4 separate regions of the Homo sapiens genome follow, and all the other regions are linked to region 3. The links are contacts of gene promoters, found by promoter capture Hi-C in human tissues and cell types (Jung and others, 2019). All regions are on one chromosome and are shown on one strand. The core of a region is centred on a gene start or on the middle of the fragment in contact, and the rest is flanking DNA. Distances in the headings are between cores, read along the strand shown.

Evidence for each region. The method cuts DNA at HindIII sites, captures the fragments that hold promoters and counts their contacts. A contact is called where the count stands out against the background at its distance.
Region 1: the fragment with the promoter of KMT2B here is called in contact with the fragment with the promoter of CLIP3 in region 3 in 3 of the 25 tissues and cell types used here (IMR-90 fibroblasts, spleen and thymus).
Region 2: a contact is called between the fragment with the promoter of ARHGAP33 here and the fragment with the promoter of CLIP3 in region 3, in 1 of the 25 tissues and cell types used here (pancreas).
Region 4: a contact is called between the fragment with the promoter of IGFLR1 here and the fragment with the promoter of CLIP3 in region 3, in 5 of the 25 tissues and cell types used here (aorta, liver, mesendoderm cells and 2 more).

What each region holds. Positions count from the first base shown.
Region 1 is chr19:35,716,652-35,723,184 of GRCh38, forward strand. KMT2B (lysine methyltransferase 2B) reads left to right here and starts at 1,352. Exons shown (of 37, transcript NM_014727.3): 1 at 1,352-1,730; 2 at 2,818-2,890; 3 at 3,133-5,153; 4 at 5,708-5,821; 5 at 5,917-6,067; 6 at 6,344-6,533. The coding sequence starts at 1,368. ZBTB32 (zinc finger and BTB domain containing 32) reads left to right here. Exons shown (of 7, transcript NM_014383.3): 7 at 1-387. The coding sequence ends at 101. RefSeq lists enhancers at 1-464, 17-296, 1,584-2,141 and silencers at 867-1,346, 1,427-1,476, 1,497-1,566, 1,607-1,686, 1,737-1,786. The HindIII fragment of the contact is 20,092 bases long and covers 1-6,533 here.
Region 2 is chr19:35,773,819-35,780,005 of GRCh38, forward strand. ARHGAP33 (Rho GTPase activating protein 33) reads left to right here and starts at 1,746. Exons shown (of 21, transcript NM_001366178.1): 1 at 1,746-1,846; 2 at 3,827-3,924; 3 at 4,006-4,090; 4 at 4,462-4,542; 5 at 4,646-4,783; 6 at 5,214-5,306. The coding sequence starts at 1,841. RefSeq lists enhancers at 1,238-1,297, 3,319-4,204, 4,205-5,089 and a silencer at 1,528-2,007. The HindIII fragment of the contact is 39,613 bases long and covers 1-6,187 here.
Region 3 is chr19:36,029,689-36,035,504 of GRCh38, forward strand. It overlaps CLIP3 (CAP-Gly domain containing linker protein 3), which reads right to left and starts at 3,185. Exons shown (of 14, transcript NM_015526.3): 1 at 3,036-3,185; 2 at 2,504-2,727. The coding sequence starts at 2,669. All of the region lies in intron 3 of LOC101927572 (a long non-coding RNA gene), which reads left to right. It overlaps THAP8 (THAP domain containing 8), which reads right to left. Exons shown (of 4, transcript NM_152658.3): 4 at 5,296-5,816. The coding sequence ends at 5,752. The HindIII fragment of the contact is 12,641 bases long and covers 1-5,816 here.
Region 4 is chr19:35,739,799-35,744,505 of GRCh38, forward strand. It overlaps IGFLR1 (IGF like family receptor 1), which reads right to left and starts at 2,654. Exons shown (of 5, transcript NM_024660.4): 1 at 2,598-2,654; 2 at 1,226-1,425; 3 at 582-766; 4 at 1-290. The coding sequence starts at 1,382. U2AF1L4 (U2 small nuclear RNA auxiliary factor 1 like 4) reads right to left here. Exons shown (of 6, transcript NM_001040425.3): 3 at 4,525-4,623; 4 at 4,214-4,347; 5 at 4,011-4,106; 6 at 2,729-3,005. The coding sequence ends at 2,921. RefSeq lists enhancers at 1-602, 950-1,059, 2,407-2,836 and silencers at 740-869, 4,172-4,332. The HindIII fragment of the contact is 13,678 bases long and covers 1-4,707 here.

The DNA.
Region 1 (6,533 bases), core at 102-2,601, 310 kb before region 3:
TCCCGCCCGGATGGACCATCCGCTCCACCTTCCTCTACTCCTCCTCGAGGCCGTCTCGGCCCTCGACCTCTCCCTGTTGTCCTTCTTCCTCCACCACCTGACGGGGTGTCGGTAGCGTCTTAGCCAAGAGTCCAATTAAAGAACGAAAAGCGGGCCGGCTCGGCTTCTGACCTGGCACCGCTGCTACGGCGGCCTAGCAAATTCCGCCCCAGAAGCGCCCCAGGAAGGGCGCCGAGTGCCCTCTCCTGGACGATCGCGGGTCGCAGAAGCCCAGGCCAGCGAGCCCTACAGAGTGAGGACACTGAAGTGTGCAGGAGCGAAGGTTAACAGTAGGGGAGATTGTCGATCTCATCACCATAATAAAGAGTTTCCTGTGCCCTCCCTTCAGGACTAGAAAGCCGAGTTTAGTCTGTGCACACCCCCGCCCACGCCCCTTGTCCTGTAGCGGCCCCTGGTGGCCCTGCGTCCGCTGTCCAGCGGGATGGACACTTCTTCCACCCCCGAGGCGCCCCGTCCTCCCCAGGAGGCAGCCGGCCCCGAGGACTCGGTGTCCGGGCACACCTTGCGGCATGCCGGTCCTGGACTGGTGGGGGCTGTGCGACCGCAAGTCACTCGCCCCTTCCACTGCAATCCACGGCGCGCGGAGTCTGATCTGGGAACGCTCGGCCCGGGAGAGAGAGGAACGCGTGCTCCGACCCTGCTTTCGGCCACCCGCCTCCTCTCCGGGAGCACACGGACCCCGAGACCGCGGCCTCTCCGGCGTCTTCCCTCCACACCGTGCCAAGCCGCCGCCAGGTCGCGCCTGGAACGGAGACTGACTATGCTTTCCACCGCTCCTTCTCCAGCCCACGCCTCCTGCAGCCGCGAACTGCATTTCCCAGGGCCTCGGGGGTCCCGGGGCCCGAGCCCGCGGCACCCTGGGAGTGGTAGTCCACGCGGGCCGCCGGCCTAGCCAAGAACAATGGGAGGAGCCTGGGGCTAGGACCACACCTCCCGGAGACCCGGCAACCCGCTTTCCGGGTCCTGGCCGGGAACCCCGCCGTCCCGGCCCTCGCGCCCTGGCTGCCGGCGGAAGAAGCGAGGCGTCCGGACTACATTTCCCGGAGGCCCCCGCGGTTCGCCCCTCTGCGGCCGCGACGCGGGGGTCTGTGCTCCCCAGGTGCGGTCCGAGGGCGCCGGCCGGCCGCGGACTCCCTCTCCCGTGGTGCCCTGCGCGTGGCCGGCCCGGCCCCCGGTCTCCCGCGGCGGCGCTGGTTGTTGTCGTGCGCCGCGGCCGCCCCGCCCCGCCCCCGCTCTCTCCCCTCCCCCCGGCCCTGCGCACGGGCCGCCCCTCCCCCCGCCTCCCCGGCCCCTCTCACGGTGCCAAGATGGCGGCGGCGGCGGGCGGCGGCAGTTGCCCCGGGCCTGGCTCCGCGCGGGGCCGCTTCCCGGGCCGGCCGCGGGGCGCCGGCGGGGGCGGGGGCCGCGGCGGACGGGGCAACGGGGCCGAAAGAGTGCGGGTAGCTCTGCGGCGCGGCGGTGGCGCGACGGGGCCGGGCGGAGCCGAGCCCGGGGAGGACACGGCCCTGCTCCGTTTGCTGGGGCTCCGCCGGGGCCTGCGCCGGCTCCGCCGCCTGTGGGCCGGCCCGCGGGTCCAGCGGGGCCGGGGACGGGGTCGGGGCCGGGGCTGGGGCCCGAGTCGAGGCTGCGTGCCGGAGGAGGAGAGCAGTGACGGGGAATCCGACGAGGAGGTGAGGCGGTTGGAGGCGTCCCCGGCGCCGGGTGGGGCGGAGGCCGGGGCTTCCAGGGGTCTGGGTTGTCCCGGGGGCGGCGTGGGCAGGCCGGGTCCTCAGGGTTCCTTCGGAGAGACGGGGCACGGAGGGAGGGCGGCTGCATGCAGCTTCCGGGGGAAAGGGCCTCTGGAAGTGGGTAGAGAAGCCCCGGCTGCAGCCAGGCACTCGCGCCCGATGTCGGTCCCGCTGAAGTGTCTTGGGCCGATCCTTTTCGGCAGCTGGCAAAGCTAGGGCGGTGGAGGTTTGGGCGAGGAGGCAGTGGGGACTGCATGTCCAGCCAGTCGTGGTTGACAGCGGCAGCGTGGCCTTGGCAGACAGGTTGGAGCTGTCTGGGCTCTTACCTGTGGGCCGCCCCGCCGGGCCTCGCAACCTCCTGGTTTCTCCAGGGCCCCAGTTTCTCTTGGCATCTCAGGTAGAGTGGTGGAGGGCTTCCTCTTGGGGCTCGGGTTGAACAGGAGTGGGATGAAGGCCGGGACTGGGCACTCTAGCAGGTCAGAGCTCAGCTCAGGATTTCTCCCCCAGCCTTTCAGAACAGGCAGGAAGGTGTGGGTTGCGTTGCCCTGGACGGTTAATAACAACCTGAGAGCTCGCAGTGGAGCCTGTACGAAAGCCATCTGATGCCCTCCCCGCCCCTTCACTTGCGGGCCCCTGTTCCCAACTTAATGCAGAAATAAATTGTGGCCCGAAAGGGTGTCAGTGGAGGTCCCACTTTGGTCTGAATTGGACTCTGAAGGAATCTGAGTATGGGGCCTGCTGCCTTTCCTGAGGAGACCCTGTCGTCTTCTCTCTTGGGCCAGTGAACCATGGCTTTGGCTGTGCTGGTGTGGTCCGGCACTGGGGATCGGAGTTCGAAATACCTGGCGCCTCCATCCCTAGGGAGAGACCCTCTCTTCCACTACCCGCGACCTTTGAGTCTTTTTCGTTCTTTTTAAATAGGCAGGGGTATGCTAAGTGGGAACTGGGGATATTCCTCGATACCTCAGATGGAACGAGGGCTTTGGCACTGACTGCTGTTTCTCCCCTCCACCCCGGTCCCCTAAATCAGGAGTTTCAGGGTTTTCATTCAGATGAAGATGTGGCCCCCAGTTCCCTGCGCTCTGCGCTCCGATCCCAGCGAGGTGAGTGACGGGGGAACTCCACCTCTTTAGCGTCACAGGAATTTATCCTCGCCCTTCGTGTCAGCTCTTCCCTGTTCAACTAGCCTCTGTCAGTTGCCGAATGTGTTCTGTGTTCAGAGTCCAAGCTAGTCTGGGCAGCGGGGGAAACACACAAGCAAGACTTAGTCCCTGCCCTCCTGGAGCGCCTTCCTCTGTGTGTAGGGCTGGCTTGATCCATCTCCCCACAACTATTCTCCTTTTAGGTCGAGCGCCCCGAGGTCGGGGTCGCAAGCATAAGACGACCCCCCTTCCTCCTCCTCGCCTAGCAGATGTGGCTCCTACCCCCCCAAAGACCCCTGCCCGGAAACGGGGTGAGGAAGGCACAGAACGGATGGTGCAGGCACTGACTGAACTTCTCCGGCGGGCCCAGGCACCCCAAGCACCCCGGAGCCGGGCATGTGAGCCCTCCACCCCCCGGCGGTCTCGGGGACGGCCCCCAGGACGGCCAGCAGGCCCCTGCAGGAGGAAGCAGCAAGCAGTAGTGGTGGCAGAAGCAGCTGTGACAATCCCCAAACCTGAGCCCCCACCTCCTGTGGTTCCAGTGAAACATCAGACTGGCAGCTGGAAATGCAAGGAGGGGCCCGGTCCAGGACCTGGGACCCCCAGGCGTGGAGGACAGTCAAGCCGTGGAGGCCGTGGAGGCAGGGGCCGCGGCCGAGGTGGTGGGCTCCCCTTTGTGATCAAGTTTGTTTCAAGGGCCAAAAAAGTAAAGATGGGACAATTGTCCTTGGGACTCGAATCAGGTCAAGGTCAAGGTCAACATGAGGAAAGTTGGCAGGATGTCCCCCAAAGAAGAGTTGGATCTGGACAGGGAGGGAGCCCTTGCTGGAAAAAGCAGGAACAGAAGCTGGATGACGAGGAAGAAGAGAAGAAAGAAGAAGAAGAAAAAGACAAGGAGGGAGAAGAGAAGGAAGAAAGAGCTGTAGCTGAGGAGATGATGCCAGCTGCGGAAAAGGAAGAGGCAAAGCTGCCACCACCGCCTCTGACTCCTCCAGCCCCTTCACCTCCTCCACCCCTCCCACCCCCTTCGACATCTCCTCCACCCCCACTCTGCCCTCCACCACCACCCCCAGTGTCCCCACCACCTCTACCATCCCCTCCACCGCCTCCTGCCCAAGAGGAGCAGGAGGAATCCCCTCCTCCTGTGGTCCCAGCTACGTGCTCCAGGAAGAGGGGCCGGCCTCCCCTGACTCCCAGCCAGCGGGCGGAGCGGGAAGCTGCTCGGGCAGGGCCAGAGGGCACCTCTCCTCCCACTCCAACCCCCAGCACCGCCACGGGAGGCCCTCCGGAAGACAGTCCCACCGTGGCCCCCAAAAGCACCACCTTCCTGAAGAATATCCGGCAGTTTATTATGCCTGTGGTGAGTGCCCGCTCCTCCCGTGTCATCAAGACACCCCGGCGATTTATGGATGAAGACCCCCCCAAACCCCCAAAGGTGGAGGTCTCACCTGTCCTGCGACCTCCCATTACCACCTCCCCACCTGTTCCCCAGGAGCCAGCACCAGTCCCCTCTCCACCACGTGCCCCAACTCCTCCATCTACCCCAGTTCCACTCCCTGAGAAGAGACGGTCCATCCTAAGGGAACCCACATTTCGCTGGACCTCACTGACCCGGGAGCTGCCCCCTCCTCCCCCAGCCCCTCCACCTCCCCCGGCCCCCTCCCCACCCCCTGCTCCTGCCACCTCCTCCCGGAGGCCCCTACTCCTTCGGGCCCCTCAGTTTACCCCAAGCGAAGCCCACCTGAAGATCTACGAATCGGTGCTTACTCCTCCTCCTCTTGGGGCTCCTGAAGCCCCTGAGCCAGAGCCTCCTCCTGCCGATGACTCTCCAGCTGAGCCTGAGCCTCGGGCAGTGGGCCGCACCAACCACCTCAGCCTGCCTCGATTCGCCCCTGTGGTCACCACTCCTGTTAAGGCCGAGGTGTCCCCTCACGGGGCTCCAGCTCTGAGCAACGGGCCACAGACACAGGCTCAGCTACTGCAGCCCCTGCAGGCCTTGCAAACCCAGCTCCTGCCCCAGGCACTACCGCCACCACAGCCACAGCTGCAGCCACCGCCGTCACCACAGCAGATGCCTCCCCTGGAAAAAGCCCGGATTGCGGGCGTGGGTTCCTTGCCGCTGTCTGGGGTAGAGGAGAAGATGTTCAGCCTCCTCAAGAGAGCCAAAGTGCAGCTATTCAAGATCGATCAGCAGCAGCAGCAGAAGGTGGCAGCTTCCATGCCGGTGAGTGTGGTCCCTGGGCCCAGCGGCACACCCAGCCATCCAGCCTCCATTCTTTGCAACCCCCTAACCTTCCGCCTCCTTGGACACTTTCCAGCATTGCGGGGAACCCTCAGAACCTGCCTTTCTGTGATCCCCCACCTTCCTTTGTTCCTCCCCAGACCTGGCCCTTCTCTGTGCTAGTTCCCTGTCCCTATCTTCCTTTTTTTTTTTTTTTTATTTTTGAGACCGAGTCTCACTTTGTCCAGGCTGGAGTGCAGTGGCGTGATCTCGGCTCACTGCAGCCTTTGCCTCCCGGGTTCAAGAGATTCTCCTGCCTCAGTCTCTCGAGTAGCTGGGACTACAGGTGCCCATCACCACGCCTGGCTAATTTTTGTATTTTTAGTAGAGACAGGGTTTCACCACATTGGCTAGGCTGGTCTTGAACTCCTGACCTCGTGATCTGCCCGTCTCGGCCTCCCAAAGTGCTGGGATTACAGGCATCAGCCACCACACCCAGCTCCCTGTCCCTATCTTTCCTCACTGTCCAGCCCCTGACCCTGTTTATTCCCTGCCAGCTGAGCCCTGGAGGGCAGATGGAGGAGGTGGCCGGGGCTGTCAAGCAGATCTCCGACAGAGGCCCTGTCCGGTCTGAAGATGAGTCGGTGGAAGCTAAGAGAGAGCGGCCCTCAGTATGCATCGGGAGGAGGGCCCTGAAGAAGACTGGCGGGAGGAGTGGGGCTGCGGGAGCGCAAGCTGCCCACACACACTCCGATTTCTCCCCCAGGGTCCCGAGTCCCCTGTGCAAGGTCCCCGCATCAAACATGTCTGCCGTCATGCTGCTGTGGCCCTGGGTCAGGCCCGGGCCATGGTGCCTGAAGATGTCCCTCGCCTCAGTGCCCTCCCTCTCCGGGATCGGCAGGACCTCGCCACAGAGGGTAGGTGGGGAGACTGGACAGCCATGTCAGGTTTGGGGATGACCCCACACTTGGGTGACATGCACCAAGAGCCTAGGAGAGAGGGAGCCAAGTCAGGTGCTCAGGGGTTAGGTGGCAAGTGGGCTGGAGTGCTAGGTCCTAGAGCAACTTCATTTGGGGGCACCAGGAACCTGGCGCTGTGAGAAAGCGAGAGCCAGGTTGTGGGAAAGCAGGGAAGTGAGGTAGAAGCCTGGTGGCTTTGTGGCTCCATCCCCTCCTCCCTGCCTGCTGCAATAGATACATCATCGGCGTCCGAGACTGAGAGTGTCCCGTCACGGTCCCGGCGGGGAAAGGTGGAGGCAGCAGGCCCTGGGGGAGAATCAGAGCCCACAGGTTCTGGAGGGACCCTGGCCCACACACCCCGGCGCTCACTGCCCTCCCATCACGGCAAGAAGATGCGCATGGCTCGATGTGGACACTGTCGGGG
Region 2 (6,187 bases), core at 496-2,995, 260 kb before region 3:
CACCTGGCTAATTTTAATATTTGTATTTTTAGTAGAGACGGGGTTTCAGCATATTGGCCAGGCTGGTCTCGAACTCCTGACCTTGTGATCCTCCCGCCTCGGCCTCCCAAAGTGCTGGGGTTACAGGCGTGAGCCACTGTCCCCAGCTTTTTTTTTTTTTTTTTTTTTTTTTTTTTGAGACAGAGTCTCACTTCAACACCTAAGCTGGAGTGCAGTGGCGCGATCTCGGCTCACAGCAAACTCTGCCACCTGGGTTCAACCCATTGTCTTGCCTCAGCCTCCCAGGTAGCTGGGATTACAGGCACGCCCGCCGCCACACCTGGCTAATTTTTGTATTTTTAGTAGAGACGGGGTTTCTCCATGCTGGCCATGCTGGTGTCGAACTCCTGACCTCAAGTGATCTGCCCGCCTCGGCCTCCCAAAGTGTTGGGATTACAGGCGTGAGCCACCACGCCTGGCCTAATATTCTATATTTTGTTTAATGTTAATTTTGTTCATTGTCTTCTCCCAGTAGCTTTTGAGCTCCAATGTGGGCAGGGTATATTTTCTCCTGGTTTGGTTGTTGATGTATGTACAAATTGATTAGAGTTTGAGTGAATGAATGAATGAATGAATGAATGAACAGACCAAGACCCTCTGAGATGAGAATTTGTTGAGGGCATGACTAAGGAGAGACCCTCCTGTGAAGGGCGTTATTACAGTGTTATCTGGGCATGCTCAGTATTAGCAGGCTCCATTGGGAATGGCTTTATGGGGGGCATAAGCATGATCTGGCATTTCCCCCTAAGCATTTTCCTAGAAAAAAAAAATCAAGGCTGGAGATTGGCCCGTAATAAGCAGTAGAAGGGGAAACAAGAAAATGTCCAGTGGGCAGGGGAGGCCAAATCGCAGAAAGCCTCGGGTTACGTCCTAGGCAAGGTATATGAGGCAACGAGAAACGTCCATGGGCGGAGCGTCCTCGGCATTATGTGAGCGGGGTCGGGATCAGGACTGAAAAGGTGAGACTTGGGACTGGGACTTTGAAAAGCTGCTTAAGGAACTGGGCACTGCTCTGAGGCCGTGGGAGAATCCAATTAAGACTATCAGGGGCTGGCTGGCGTGGTGGCTCACGCCTGTCATCCCAGCGCTTTGAAAGGAGGCTGAGGAGGGAGTATCTCTTGAGCCCCAGAGATCAAGACCATCCTGGGTAACATAGTGAGACCCCCATGTCTAAAAAAAATTAGCCAGGCGTGGTAGCGCACGCCTGTAGTCCCAGCTACATGGGAGGTATCGCTTGAGCCCAGGAGGTTGAGGCTGCAGTAAGCCACGATTGCAGGACTGCGCTCCAGCCTGGGCGACAGAGTGAGACCCTGTCTCTTAAAGAAATAAAAATAAAAAAGTCAGAAGAATGGACACTGGGAGTGGACGAAAGGTAGGGTCCATTGCTTGGTGTTGGAAGTGTCGGAAGCAAAGCATAAAGAACCTGGGGGCTTGTCTCAGGAGGGCGATGACAGCCAATGAAAAGCAGTCATGGGCGTGGCGCTGTCAAACTTCGAGGGGCGGGACCGAGGACACAGAGCCGGGGCGGAGCCCAAGGTGAAACCAATGAGAAGCCTCCGGGTGGGCGGGGCATCGGCCTAAGGCCAAGGGCGGAGCCAATGAGAAGCAGCGCCGCGTTCCCGCTGCCCCCCGCCCCCGTGGGGCGCGCGCCGGAGCCACGGGCAGCCGTTAGGGGCGGGGTCTGCAGCCGCCCGCGCGCGGCTCGCGCCCTCCCCTTTGTGTCGCCATGGCGGCGGCAGCGGCGACGAGAACGGCGAGCGAGGGGTCGAGCGCGGCCGGGGCCTGAGGAGGCTACGCGACCATGGTGGTAAGGGTCCCACGCGGCCGTCAGCCTGTCCGTCCGGATGTCAGTCTGTCCGTGCGCAGCCCCGCCCCGCGCGCCCCGCCCCCGGCCCCGCCCGATCCCGCGGCCTGTGCTTCAGCCGTGGTCCCTCCCGTCCTGCGGCCCCATCCCGGGTCCCAGCCCGTACCTCGACCCCGCCCCCTAAGCGCGCATCCCCGTCTTCCACGCCCTGGATGGGGTGACAGGGACCTAGGGCCTGGGCTGGGAGGAGGCGGGGCTAGTCCAGGAAGGGACCCGCGCCACCCAAGTGGCCCCTGCAGGGGCCTCCTGAGGCTCCTGGGTCCTTCCCCAGCTCCCATCCCAGCACCTTCCTCGGCATCCTTCTGCCAGCCCTCAGCCCTCCCCGGCGGAGCCCCCTCCTCCTCCCCACAGCCCCTTTCTCATTCCCGAGCCCCACCCCCCACCCGCTCCATCCCCAGCCTGACCCTTTTCTTCTCCTTCTCCCTCATTTTCACCCTATCCCAGTTCCTCTCAATCCCCCCCGCCCCGCATCAGTCTGAGCCTTTGCCTCGTCTCTCCAGCCACTCCTTCCTTACTCCACCCCAACAGGCCAGCACTGTACCTCCCTTGATCCTCGGGTCTGCTCCATCTCCTTGTCCTCATCCCCCTCCCCCACCATTTCCCTCTCCCACCATGCTGCTCCCGCTCATTCATCCATTCATTCCCTCACTTAGCAGACATTCACTGAGACCGCCTCTGTGCAGGCCCCACGCTCCAGGCACAGAGAGAGTCAGCTCCCATCCTGCCTTGGGGAACCTTATGGGCTGGAGGGGGACAGACCCTGAGGGTGAGACCCTGAGGGTGACTGGGGGTTGCAGGGACATGGAGCAGGGAGACGCTACAGCCCAGTGAATCTGTCTGGCAGCTGGTTAATTTATTCATCAGATTTTACCCAGTCCCTGCTGCGCGCGACTGGGCTGGCACTGGGGACCCAGAAAAGAATCAGGAACAATCATGTCTGAACACCAACTCAATGCCCAGCTCTATGCTGGGGAGCTCAGTCTGGGGCCCTCCTTCTGGGAGGCCGGTCATAGTCCAATGAGAGAGATGAACTTGTCACCACCAGTGCCATCTCAGAGTGATCAGAGCTGTGAAGGGAGAAGCTCTGGTCAAGGCATGGAACCTGGGATGGGGGAACCTCAGGGGATGGAGAGAGTCCAGAGGAGATGCCAGGTGCAGCCTGAAGGGTCAGGGAGAACTTCCTGGAGGAGGGCACATGTGAGTTGGGACCTGAGGGGTGGGAGTGAGGATGAATGTACCCAGGGAAAGGTGGGGCGAGTGTTCCAGGCTGAGGGAACAGCCTTTGCAAAGGCCTAGAAGGAAATGAGAAGAGGGTGCTTTTTTTGGACTCTTAGAAGTTCAAGAGCTCTGAGAGTGGGGGCAATGGGAAGAGATGGGACTGGAGAGGTAAACAGAAATCAGCTCAGGGAAGTCTCGATTATCAGACCAGAGAATTCAGACTTCGTCTTGAAGACAACAGGGAGTCATTGAAGGCCCAGGATCTATGGAGAAATAGAGCCAGATTTGTGTTTTCTGAAAACGATCCAGGCTATTGCGGAAAAGCTGGCAGGAGGGGAGAGGCTGGAAGCAGGAAGGCTGATGAGATGGGAGTTGTGATTGTCTAGACAGTGGTAGGAGATCACTGTACTCTGCAGGGGCTACGGAAGGGTTTTCAGCAGGGAGAGATGGGACCAGCATGCTCTCCATCCTGTTGCCCCGCCTCACGTCTGGCCCCTGCTTCTCCAGTCCCCCACCCCAGACCACACACGAAGAAGCAGTCCTGTCCTCAGCCCAGCCCTCACCTCCCCCGACCTGCCATCCTGCTTCATGCTCAGGGCGGTGTGTGGAGCGCCCGGGGCTCTGGACCCGCGCTGCCAGATAACAATGCTCTCGTTGTCTCTTTGCTCCCATCTCTGGGGGCCTCTGATTCTTTCTGCTCTACAGGCACGCAGCACTGACAGCCTGGATGGCCCAGGGGAGGGCTCGGTGCAGCCTCTACCCACTGCTGGGGGGCCCAGTGTGAAGGGGAAGCCTGGGAAGAGGTGAGGGTGAGGGAGGAAAGGGCTCAGCTAGGAGCTGGGGAGACTCAAGGAGCTGCTGGTGACGCATCCCCTGTCTCCCAGGCTCTCAGCTCCTCGAGGCCCCTTCCCGCGGCTGGCTGACTGCGCCCATTTCCACTACGAGAACGTTGACTTTGGCCACATTCAGGTATGGGGGCTTTGCATTTGCACCCAGGAGGGAAGACAATATCCTACCCAACCTTGCAACGATATCAGGTGCTTTGCTTCTGAAACTTATCCCTGTGACTGGCTGCTGCACGCGTCTGAGCAGTCAGTAGCAAAAGTTGCAGGAGCCACAGCAGATGGGGAGAGCTGCTCATTCATTCATCCATTTGTTCTTTTATTCATTCAACAACAACTTTTGTTAGGTATCTGCTCTATGTCAGGGACCAGGACATCACCAGGCCCTGTCCTCGGGGAGGTCCAGAAGGGAGTCACAAACCCGTCCCTAGATAGTGCCATCCCCAGGAGGTCAGGACTGGGACAAAAGTCCACCTGGGCCTTGCTTTCCCTCTGCAGCTCCTGCTGTCTCCAGACCGTGAAGGGCCCAGCCTCTCTGGAGAGAATGAGCTGGTGTTCGGGGTGCAGGTGACCTGTCAGGTGAGGCCATCCCGCCTCTCATCTAGCCTGAGAGAATGGCCACTGTAGTCCTCAGCTCGGTGTCATGGGGCCCCTGCTCCCTTCTGTCCCTCTGCTCCCACAGGGCCGTTCCTGGCCGGTTCTCCGGAGTTACGATGACTTTCGTTCCCTGGATGCCCACCTCCACCGGTGCATATTTGACCGGAGGTTCTCCTGCCTTCCGGAGCTTCCCCCGCCCCCCGAGGGTGCCAGGGCTGCCCAGGTAACCTGCTTGTTGTCTCAGCCCCTGCCTCATGAGTGTGTCCTCATCCACAGTGTGAAATCATCAAGGCAGCGGGATAGAGAAATATTTAAATACTGGTATGGCCCAAGTCCCAACCAATCTGAATGAATGGAGAAGCCTTAGAAACGTAGTAGGCTTCTGCTACATTTAGCTTTGCTAAGTTTTAGGATCATGGGGAGTTCCAGGGGGTCCCATGGGAGGGTCACCATGGTCATGCCAACCAGGGTACTCAAGAGCTTGGCCCAGCCTGCTTATTCATTCATATGCCCATATCTCAGTACCTAACAGCTGAGCAGCACCCATGTGTTCAGGATGAACTTCAGCCCAGAGACGAGCTAGGGCAGTGTGGGAGGGCAGTGGGCTCTCTCACGTCCACTCACAGAGGCCCACTCTGACAACCTGCCCCCAGATGCTGGTGCCACTGCTGCTGCAGTACCTGGAGACACTGTCAGGACTGGTGGACAGTAACCTCAACTGCGGGCCTGTGCTCACCTGGATGGAGGTGGGCCTGGGCAGGGGGCTTGGAGATTCCGAGTGGGTGAGGGGGTGTCTGAGGGGCGAGAAGCAGCCTCGGTGTGTGTGTGGGCATAGAAAAGAAAGGAGCCAGAGTGGAGGAGGCGTTGATATTTTAGTGTCTGTGTGGGCGCATGCCTGTGAGAGAATGTGTGTGAGCATGTGTGTGTGTGCACGTGTGTGTGTTAGCAGGTGTTCGGCTTTAAGGATACAAGGGTTTAAATGTATATCAGTTAGAAATGGGTTGGGCTGTAACTCACAGAACACCTGGCTATGAGTGGCTTAAACCAGAGGGGTTTTTTTTCTTTTCTTGAGATGGAGTTTTACTCTTGTTGCCCAGGCTGGAGTGCAGTGGCATGATCTCGCCCACCACAACCCCTGCCTCCCAGGTTCAAGTGATTCTTTTGCCTCAGCCTCCTGAGTAGCTGGGATTACAGGCATGTGCCACCACGCCCGGCTAATTTTATATTTTCAGTAGAGACTGGGTTTCTCCATGTTGGTCAGACTGGTCTCAAACTCCTGACCTCAGGTGTTCCGCCCACCTCAGCCTCCTAAAGTGTTGGGATTATAGGCATGAGCCACTGTGCCTGGCCTCTGGCTAATTAAAAAAAAATGTTTTGTAGAGACAGAGTTTTGCTATGTTGACCAGGCTGGTCTTGAACTCCTGGGGTCAAGCAATTCTCCAGGCTCACCCTCCCAAAGTGCTGGGATTACAGGCGTGTGCCACCACGCCCAGCACAGAGAGATTTTAGATGGCAACCGTGTGGCATCTGCTGTGGAGGATGAAGGTGCAGAGGTGGATGGGGAAGCCTTCAGGTGGGGAAGCCTTTGGGTGGGAGAGTCCTGGGACATGTGAGGGGAAATAAAGGG
Region 3 (5,816 bases), core at 1,935-4,434:
AAATGCTATGATTCTATTCTGCCTCATTCACTCCTTTATCCCCAAGGCCAGGCACAGCACATGGCACACAGTAGGTGCTCAGTCAATCTCTGTTGAATTAATGTACAAATTTAACAGATACATGATTTCCTCTTGGAGTCCACCTTAGCCTTCTCCCTGTCCTCGACCACATTTCCAGATTTCTTCACATTCTGGGACAAAACCTCTCCCGCTCTACAAGCAAGACTGCTTGGAGGGCTCAGCCTATACCCTCCGACCTCCCACTGAGTCAGAGGCCCCAGCCACCTCCAGCTGCATTTCCAAAGGAGATTTTCCAGTTTTCTGAGGTACAGCACCCCCCCGACCTCAGGCCCCAGATAACTTCCTTTTACTTTTTTCTTTTTTTGAGACAGGGTCTCACTGTGTCACCCAAGCTGGAGTGCAGTGGTGCAATCCTAGCTTACTGCAGCATCGAATTCTCAGGCTCAAGTGATCCTCCCACCTCAGCCTCTGGAGTAGCTGGGACTACAGGTACCCACCATGCCTGGCTAATTTCTAAATTTTCTGTACAGATGGGGTCTTGCTCCATTGCCCAGGCTGATCTCGAACTCCTGGCCTCAAGCAATCCTCCCACCTTGGCCTCCTAGAGTGCTAGGATTATAAGCCAGAACCACTGTGCCTAGCCAACTTTCTTATTTTTCTATTAGACTGAAGTCAACTTGTAGTCTCCCTGATCTACCTCTAGTGGGTGACATGTCCATGGATGCCATCTGTCTTGCTCTATCCTGGCAACGCTGACTCTCTGAACCTGGTTTCTGAACCTCACAGCTGCCGGGGATTCCCAGCCTGCATATCTTCCAAATTCCCCTCCTACATCCAACTCTGGCTGCACTCCATCCCCTTCTACCCAGTACCCAGAGGGAGCTTTCAAACTACAAATCAGACCTGCCACTCCTCTGCTCTTAAACACCCTCCCCTTGCCACTCTTCTCCCCTGTCCCACTTAGAATATAACCAAAGTCCTCACTGTAGCCTTGAAGGCCCTTCCAGATCTGGCCTATGCCAACCTCTCACCTCAACCTCGATCATTCCCTGAATGCAGCTCCAGGATCTTTCTGTTCCAAGTTCAATTCTGCCTCAGGGCCTTTGCACTTGCTGCTGTCTGCCTGGAACACTCTTTTTCCAGCTCTCTTATGGCTGATTCCTCCCCATGCTCTGGGTCCCAAACTAAATGTTACCTACTCAGAAAGAGCAGCCCTGACTACCCCTGCAGGTAGCTGCCCCCTAGTCATTATCGTATCTCCACCTTTAATTTCTTTTTCTTTTTTCTTTTTTTCTTTTCTTTTTTTTTTTTTTCTTTTTTTTTTTTTTTTTTGAGACAGTCTTACTCTGTCACTCAGGCTGGAGTGTAGTGGCTCGATCTTGGGCAACCTCTGCCTCCCAGGTTCAAGCGATTCTACTGCCTCAGCCTCCCGAGTGGCTGGGATTACAGACATATGCCACTATACCCAGCCAATTTTTGTATTTTTAGTAGAGATGGGGTTTCACCATGTTGGCCATGGCTGGTCTCAAACTCCTGACCTCAGGTGATCCGCTGGCCTCAGCCTCCCAAAGTGCTGGGATTACAGGCGTGAGACACCATGCCCAGCCCACCTTTTCTTTCTTTCATAGCACTTGCTCCAATCTGAATTTATCTGATTTCTGATTTATTTATCTGTTCACTTGTTTAGTCTCTCCTTCTCTCCTGCAAGGGAGGATCATGCCTGGATCACTTAGGATTAAATCTCCGGCACCCAGCATAAGGCTTGTCACAGAGTAGCAGCACTCGATAAATATCGCTCGGTCAATGATTAGACACTTTCAGTTTCTCCAAGAGGCCGCCCTCTCAGCTCCATACCCTCCTACCTCAGATCCTTTACCCAGCGGTTACCTCTCCTGGGAGCCCTTTCCCCTGACCCTTCTCTTAGTTAACCCCAACTCACCCTCCAGTCTTCTCAACTGTAACCTCCTCAGGGAAACAATGTCTTAAAAAACTCTTGCAGCAGCTTGTTTATGGTAAATACAATTTTCATAATGTCTTGTAATTACATATTTATATTACATTATATTTTTCTTTCTTGCATATAAACCTAAATGTGAAAAATTACATTATGGTTTAATACCTATTTGTGTGGCTGTTACTGAGGCCTGTGAGTTGTCTCAGGGCAAAGACTGGGTCTCTCTTGCCCCCTGCTGTGGCCCCAGCCCCTAGCATAAAGCCAGGTCCACAGCCGCTTTCAAAAAATGATTGTTGAATGACTAAATGATGGAATGATGTGTCATGAGTCAAAGACTAGGAGTATTACAATTCCATTCTCCAATGGGTGAATGAATGAATTAACGAGGGGTGCTCTGCAGCCAAGATTCCTCTGGACCACCTTCAAATTCCCCAGAATTCTCCCACCATCACCACCAGCAGAGCACAGCCCACCCTCCCCGGCCACCCAACGCTCCAGGCCAGATTCCAGGGTGGGGACAGTGGTTACCGTAGTCCTTAGGGAGGGGGGCAGGTGCCGAGGGGTGCACAACAGGCTTCTGCCGGCGCTCCTGGGTGGGGCTGGGGGCCTCGGGGACGGGTTCATCCTCCTCCTCCTCTTCTTCCTCCTCTCCTCGGGGTGGCGGGGCCATCGGGGCAGGATCTGTCTTAGTCATGGTCCTCGGTGGCCCTCGGGGGGCGGGTGCAGAGTTGGGGGCAGCCTTCAGGCAAATCCTGGAGGCAGAGGTCAGCTGGAGAGGGTGCCCGGCAGGCTCCAGGGTCCAAGCCCCTAGGAGCTTCCAGGGCCCCGGGTGGCCTCCGCGCAACTGGATCTTGGGCAACCATAGGGACCCCCGTTACCCATAGAGGGCCCCGGTGTGTGCGCCCAGCGCCTGCCACCTCCCCCAGGCCCAGCCCCCCATTCTTCTCCTCCCGCGTCAGGCCCCTCAGTCGCGGCTGCCCCCTCCCCGGGTTTGTTTATCTCGGGATTCAGGATGCTTCGCCCCTCCCCTTCTCCGCGGGCCGCCCCCTCCCCATCTTACCTCGGGCAGACAGCGCTGGGGACCAAAGTGGAGACTGGGGAGACTGTGGGAGCAATGGGGTGTCGGTGTCAGGGGACGTGATGGGGGAGGCAAGGGAGACAGAGAGAAGGGGACGAGGCCCAGACGCCGACAGGGGGTGGGGGCGGAGAGGGAGGGGCGCGACTGCGCATGCGCCTGCTGCCCCCCTACCGGCGGCGGGGGAGGAGGGACCAGGAGGAGGGACCGGGAGGCGCTCGCATTGATGGAGGGGCCAGAGGCGGCGACTGAAAGGGGAGAGCCTCCGGGCACTGGGAGAGGAAGAGATGGCTACGGAAAGGAGCGAGATGAGCAGATACAACGGCAAAAGAGAGGGCTGAGAGAGCGGACACAGATCTTCTCCATCCCCTTCCCCCACGCCTGCAAACCAGGCCGGTGAGGGCAGTGGTCTTGGGGCGTGGTGACGATGGGGACCCTCTAGGGGACCCTCTCTCTAGGACCCTAGACCGGACCCCTTCTCCAAGCTCACCATTCATAATGGGTGCCTCAGAGGGGTGATTTCCTAGAGACTCCTATCATGATCATCTCATCCTTACCATCATAATGCGAGGCTCACACACTGGGGCCCAGAGGTTAAGCAGCTTGCCCAAAAGTACATGAGTAGGTGATGGAGCGAACATTTGAAACCAGACAGTCTGTAAAGTCTGATTTTTATTTTTATTATTTCCTAGACAGGGTCTCACTCTGTCACCCAGGCTACTGTGCAGTGTTGTGATCTTGGCTCACTGCAGCGTCAAACTTCTGGGCTCAAGCCATCCTCCCACCTCAACCTCCCGAGTAGCCGAGACCACACGTGCATGCCACCATGTCTGGAGAATTTTTTTTGAGACAGGGTTTTGCCATGTTGCCCAGGCTGGTCTTGAACTCCTGACCTCAAGGGATCCTCCTGCCCCTGCCACCCAAAGCGCTGAGATTACAGGCACGAGTCACCATGCCCAGCTTTGATTCTTAATCACCATGCTACATGCCTGTAGCAGTGTCTGGGAAACAGATCTGCCGATTGACCCCTCCAACTCTCTCAGAACCTGTATCTTCCCCACGGAGGCCTCCTGAAGCCAGCCCAGGGTCCTGGCTCCATTGTCATGGCTTGGCTTCCCACCTGGAGCTGTAGCCTGCTCTGCCTCAAATCATCCCAGCCTGGATGGGGCTGGGTGACAGCCTTGAACACCTCATCCTTCTAATGCACAGGTCCAGTAGCTCCATCTCCAAAAGATTTCCAGGATCTCACTCTCCCCACCGCTACCCTGGGCCCTCATCTTGGTCCATCCTTCTTCTTCTGCCACCAGCACTACGGCAGCAGCCTCTTACCTGCTGTCCCCGTCCTCCTCCAACATGCAGCCACAGGGACCCATGAACACCTGTCACTTTGGAGCCCTCTTTCCCTCAGAGGGGTCTGCCTGCTGCACCTCACTCCAGGTAGAAGCCAAGGCTCTCAGCCATGGCCCACAAGGGCCTATGTGAACCTGCCCCATCATCTCTGCACTCACCTCCTCTCACCCTCTTTTGTTCACTCCACCCCAGCCACACTGGCCTCCTTGCTTCTCCCTACCCCAGGACCTTTGCACTGGCTCTTTTTTTTTTTTTTTTTTGAGATGGCAGTCTCACTGTTCCCCAGGCTGGAGTGGAGTGGCATGATCTCTGCTCACTGCAACCTCTGTCTTCCAGGTTCAAGTGATTCTCCTGCCTCAGCCTCCCGAGTAGCTGGGATTACAGGCCTGTGCCACCACACCCAGCTAATTTTTGTATTTTTAGTAGGGACGGGGTTTCGCCATGTTGGCCAGGCTGGTCTCAAACTCCTGACCTTAGGTTATCTGCCTGCCTCAGCTTCCCAAAGTGCTGGGACGACAGGCGTGAGCCACCGTGCCTGGCCTGCAACGGCTCTTTGTGATGCCCGGAATGCTCTTCCTCCAAATCCCTACGTGGCTCCCTCTCTGCCCTGTTTTAGGATCTTACTTGTTGGTGTCTTTTCACCTTCTCTGCTCTAAAACTGCACCCCTTCCTCCCTTCCCTACTATGGTTTTCTCCATAGCAACACCGCCTCCCAGACCTGACACATCCCAGACAGCAGGCCCTCACTGCAGGGGTTGTTCGTCCTCTGGAACCTGAGCCTGTAGCGCTCCAGGCCAGCCCCTTCTGATCACCCAGGTTTCTGCTAAAACATGGCCTTGGAGGGCCCTCCCCCAGGCCCAAACCAAATTTTTGTTGTCTTTATAGCACTCATCGCTCATGTCTGCAGTGTTCTTGTTTATTTGTTTACTAGTTCATCGTCTACTCAAGTAGAATGAGCACCATGAGGGCAGGGATTTTCTCAGCTGTGTCCACCATGGTATCATGAACTCAGTACCAGGCTTGGCAAAAAGCGTGGGACTCCTTAGAACCAGGTATGATTCTCCCAAACAACCCTTGCTCTGCTCTGAGGCTGTCGTACTGATTTGCAAAGATCTGAGCCGGGGGTGGCAGAAGCCTGGTACCCAGGGGATTGGGGGCTGATGAGAGACTTGGGCCCAGGTCACCCCTAAGGTTCAAGAGATCCCTAGGAGTGGGGTGGTAGAACCCAGGCCCTTGAGGGAGGCACTGCTACTACCCAGGCGTGGGCGGTGGGGCTGGGCCAAGCCCACGTATAATGTCTTTCCTCCTCCATCTTCTATCTTTTGTCCCTCGACATTGTCTGTCTTGATCCTTATGCACTGGGGATCCGAGTGTCCAGGAGCTCCGGCTTGGCATCCACTGTGGCAGGTGCAGGGT
Region 4 (4,707 bases), core at 1,404-3,903, 290 kb before region 3:
GTGTGGGTGTTGGGGACTCCGCAGACCAAGCCAGGATAGGGATAGGGGTCGGCTTTCTCCTTGGGCCAGCAGAGATGCCAGAGCAGAATAAACAGGAGGATCGCTATCACCGCCAAGGTCAGGAGCAGGACCAGCACCACGAGCGGAAGGAAATTCGGCCAGGCCTGCTGAGGGACAGGCTCAGGGGTCCTCCAGGCAATGGAACTTGCTGGTGAGCTGCGCTCCTGGGAGCTAGGGGCGCCTGGGTTTCCAGGTGTGAGGGGGCAGTGCCCCTTGGCAGGGACCGGCCTCTGGGGATAAGGGGTTGGAGTAAAGCTGGAGGCCACACTCCACTCCTGCCCGCTCCCAAACCTCCCAACTTTATATCCTTTAATGGGGCCACATCCCATCTGATACGGTATCTGATAAGGTAGTTGGGCCCCGCAAGGCCCAACTACCTTAACCTAGGACCTCCCGACCCCTGCAGGCCAGCCACCTCCTGAAACCACGGCCCCACCCCTTACGTGGGGCTACGCCGGCTCCCTACATCTAGGCCCCCCACCTCCAGCACGCCCTTGCCCTGCCGGGAGTCCCATCTGCACCTCTCTGCAGCGCCACGGGGTTCTGCCCCCGCCCGCGGCGGGAGTAGGGGTCACGGCTCCGCCGCCGCAGGGGCTACATAGCTCCGCGCCGTCGGGGTTGCACTGCCCAGAAGAACACTTTCGGAACGGGGGCGTTACGAAATCGCCGTGGTCATTGAGTCCGCAGTTTTCCCGGAACTCATAGTCTAGCGGGAAAGCTGCGCTCCAGTGCGGCCGCCTAGCCCGCCCCTGCGCGGGCAACGCCCTCTCCCTTCGCCCTATCCCAGCGTGCCCCGCCCCTCCAGGACGCTTCCAGCCTATTAGCGTGCGCCCCGGTCTTGTCACTTTTCTCCGGGCTCGCCTTTTCACCCCCCTCCAGCCTGCTCCGCACGAAGCTCCGCCCACTCCCGGCTTCTCTACATAAAGCCCACCCTTTCCACGCGGCCCCTATCCCGCCTCTCCAGCCATATCCATTCGCTGTTGCCCTACGGTAGCCCGCACTATCTGCACAGGCTCTGCCTGCCATCCCTGTCTGATCTGCATAAGGCCCACCGCTTAGACCCCTAAGCAAGCCTCTCTGGCCCGTAGCCCACAGACCTCGCCCCTTCCCCGCTCCCTATCACCTGCAAGCTCCGCCCAAGCAAGGCTCGGTCTCGGATTCTCACCCGGGCAGGGGGGCGGCCCGAAGCGTTGCAGGCAGCTGCTGCAGCACTTGTTGTCTGGGTTCCAGTATTCAAGGCGGCCGCAGTACTGGGAGGCTTCCGGCGGTGGCGCCAGGGCCAGAAGCAACAAGGCCGTCAGGAGGCATCGTCCAGGCCCCATCTGGGGGGCCGTGATAGCGGGACTTCCAAACACAGCGCCTCTGCTACACTTTCCGGGGAAATCGGGCAGAAGAAAGGACGCGGTGATGTGGGGGAACAGAATTCTCACGCCTCTTCGGAAGCCGGGAATCTACCCCCGAGCCCTCATCCCCCAACTGAGCCGGTTATCAGAGAAGCCCACAAGGCCACTAGGGGACTAACAGGGCTGCGGATCTAGATTGCAAGAATGCATATCCCACCTCTGCCGTGTCCTCACCCACCCACCCTCCCTTTTCCATCCCTAAAATAAGACAATGATAGCACCTGTCTCATAGGGTTATTGTGGAGAATTAGAACCGTCATTAGAAGTAAAGCAGGGGCTGGGTGTGGTGGCTCATGCCTGTAATCCCAACACTTTGGGAGGCCAAGACAGGAGGATCACTTGAGCCCAGGAGTTCGAGAGATCAGCCTGGACAACAAAATGAAACCCCATCTTTACAAAAAAAAAAAAAAAAAAAAAAAACAGCAAAGCACTTTGCCAAGTGCAGTGGCTCACGTCTGTAGTCCCTGCTACTAGGGAGGCCAAGGTAGGAGGATTGCTTGAGCCATGAATTACAGACCAGCCTGGGCAACACAGCAAGACCTCATCTCTAAAAACAAAAAAAACTGGCCGCCGGGCGCAGTGGCTCATGCCTGTAATCCCAACACTTTGGGAGGCCCAGGTGGGTGGATCACCTGAGGTCAGTAGTTCAAAACCAGCCTGGCCTACATGGTGAAACCCTGTCTCTATTAAAAATACAAAATTAGCCGGGCGTGGTAGCGCATGCCTGTAAATCCCAGCTACTTGGGAGGCTGAGGCAGAATTGCTTGAACCTGGGAAGTGGAGGCTGCAGTGAGCTGAGATCGTGCCATTGCACTCCAGCCTGGGCAACAGGAATGAAACTCCTTAAAAAAAACAAAAACAAACTAAAGTGCTGAAAACAGCACCTCACATACAGTAAACTCAGTGTTTAAGTGTAAGGCATTACTAACTCCCATCACAATTCGGCAGGCACGGAGGAGTCAGCCCCATACTGGCTGGAGACCACCTCCCAGCACCTCACCTCACCTTTGAATCCTAATCTCCTTGGGGCTAGGGCTCCTCCCACCTGCCACAACCAGGTCTCTCCCCCTTGAATAAGCCTCAGATGGAGGTGCTAAGGTTTTCAGCACAAAGGTGTCCCCACCCTACCAGTACCGTTAGGGTCCTGGGTCCCAAGCTGGCCGTGCCAAGTTCCTCAGCTGAAGTTGTGGCCAGGACCCAGTCTTGTTTCCCCTTTTCGTCACATGTGTGGGTGGAGGGAAATGCCAAACCACAGCAAAAGCAAGTTGATGCCGAAGTGAAACACGCAGCTTTATTAAGACAGGGGCGGTAGAAGAAGGTCTCCATGCTGAACAGATTACATTATGGAGCCCGGGAGCCTGGGAAGGATGGGGCAGGAGAGTGAAGGGGGCTTTGAGGAGAGGTCCTGCCAGGAACATCTGTCCCTGTTGGGGGTGAAGGGTAAGGGGGCCAGGGCCTCAGAAGCGGCCATGCCAGTGATCAGGGGAACACCGATGGTTCCTCTCTCGGGGATGGTGGCCAGTATGGAACCTCGGGGGTGACCTGGGAATAGGAGCGTTGAGAGTTCTGTTAGAACCCTGAGGAGTGGTGCAGAGATCCTGCAGGCCTGCCTCTCTGCTCTGGGATGAGGCAGGAGGGTGCTGAAATAACTAGAGTTCTAAGACACGACCTCAGTGGCCAGTATCAGGGGAACTCAGTGGCCAGTATCAGGGGTGGCAATCCAGGCTGGTCGTGGATTAGGGGTTCAGGCTGGTTTGGGGATTGGGACTTAGGTACTGGTCTCCAGATGGAGCTCAGAACTACTCTTAGGGTATAAGAGTCTTGGGAATGACCGGGCGCAGTGGTTCACGCCTGTAATCCCCACACTTTGGGAGGCCGAGATGGGTGGATTACCTGAGGTCCGGAGTTCGAGACCAGGCTGGCCAACGTGGTGAAACCCCATCTCTACTAAAAATACAAAAATTAGCCAGGCATGGTGGCAGGTGCCTATAATCCCAGCTACTTGGGAGGCTGAGAAAGGAGAATTGCTTGAACCTGGGAGGCAGAGGTTGCACTGAGCCAAGACTGCGCCTTTGCACTCCAGCCTGCGGAAGAAGAGCAAAACTCCGTCTCAAAAAAAAAAAAAAAAAAAAAAAAAAAAAACAGTCAGCCGGGAGTGGTGGCTCACGCCTGTAATCCCAGCACTTTGGGAGGGTGAGGCAGGTGGATCACGAGGTTAGGAGTTCAGACCAGCCTGGCCAAGATGGTGAAACCCCATCTCTACTAAAAACACAAAAATTAGCCGGGCATGGTGGCAGGTGCCTGTAATCCCAGCTATTTGGGAGGCTGAGGCAGAGAATTGCTTGAACCCGGGAGGCGGAAGTTGCCATGAACCAAGATGGTGCCAATGCACTCCAGCCTGGGCAACAGAGTGAGGCTCCATCTCAAAAAAAAAAAAAAAAAAAAAAGATTCTTGGGAACGTGGTTACTGGGGCTTAGGGTTAGGCTCATCTGAGGATATAGGGGCCTTAGGACATGAGGAGACATAGCAGGCTGGTCCTGAGGTACCTGCGCCTGGGTCCCCGCCCATAGAGCTGCCTCTGGAGGTTCTGGGAAATGGGCCGCAGATGCATGAAGTTGCAGAAGCCACCTCGGGTACATTCCCTGCATAGAGGGTAGAGAGATGGAGGAAGCCATTGTCACTGACAGCCCCTACCACGCATTCAAAGTCTGGGATTCCAAGTGCCCATCCCACCCTTGAACTACCATACCCCATCTCATACTGGCGACAGCATGACTCCCGGAAGTCAGTGACAGGAGACAGCTCACCGTGCACAGCCTGCCCGTTGAACCAGCGGTTACTGAGTTCAGCCACGGCCCGCTCTCCATCCTCCTCCCTCCGGAACTGCAGGAAATGTCAGTCAGGGTCAGCAGGAGAACTCAGAGATCTTCAGGGGACTCACTACCCGCTCTGGGGCTGGACTGGATTTAGTGATGAAATTCAAGCTGAGAGCCTACAGTGGCCACCATCAGGCATTGAAACGCCTCCACTTCTGGGCCCTAAGTGGGGGGCAGCAAGCACCTTGACATAGACGTTGCCCACGAGGTGGTCCCCAAGGTTGTCGCACACATTCATCTCTTCAATCTCCCCATACTTCTCCTGCAGTTCTGTGAACACCTCCTGTGGAAGACGGGGAGGAACTCAGCTGAGCTCCCACAAGAAACCCCATCTGCCCCTACCAACCCTCACCTCGAAGAAGCTATC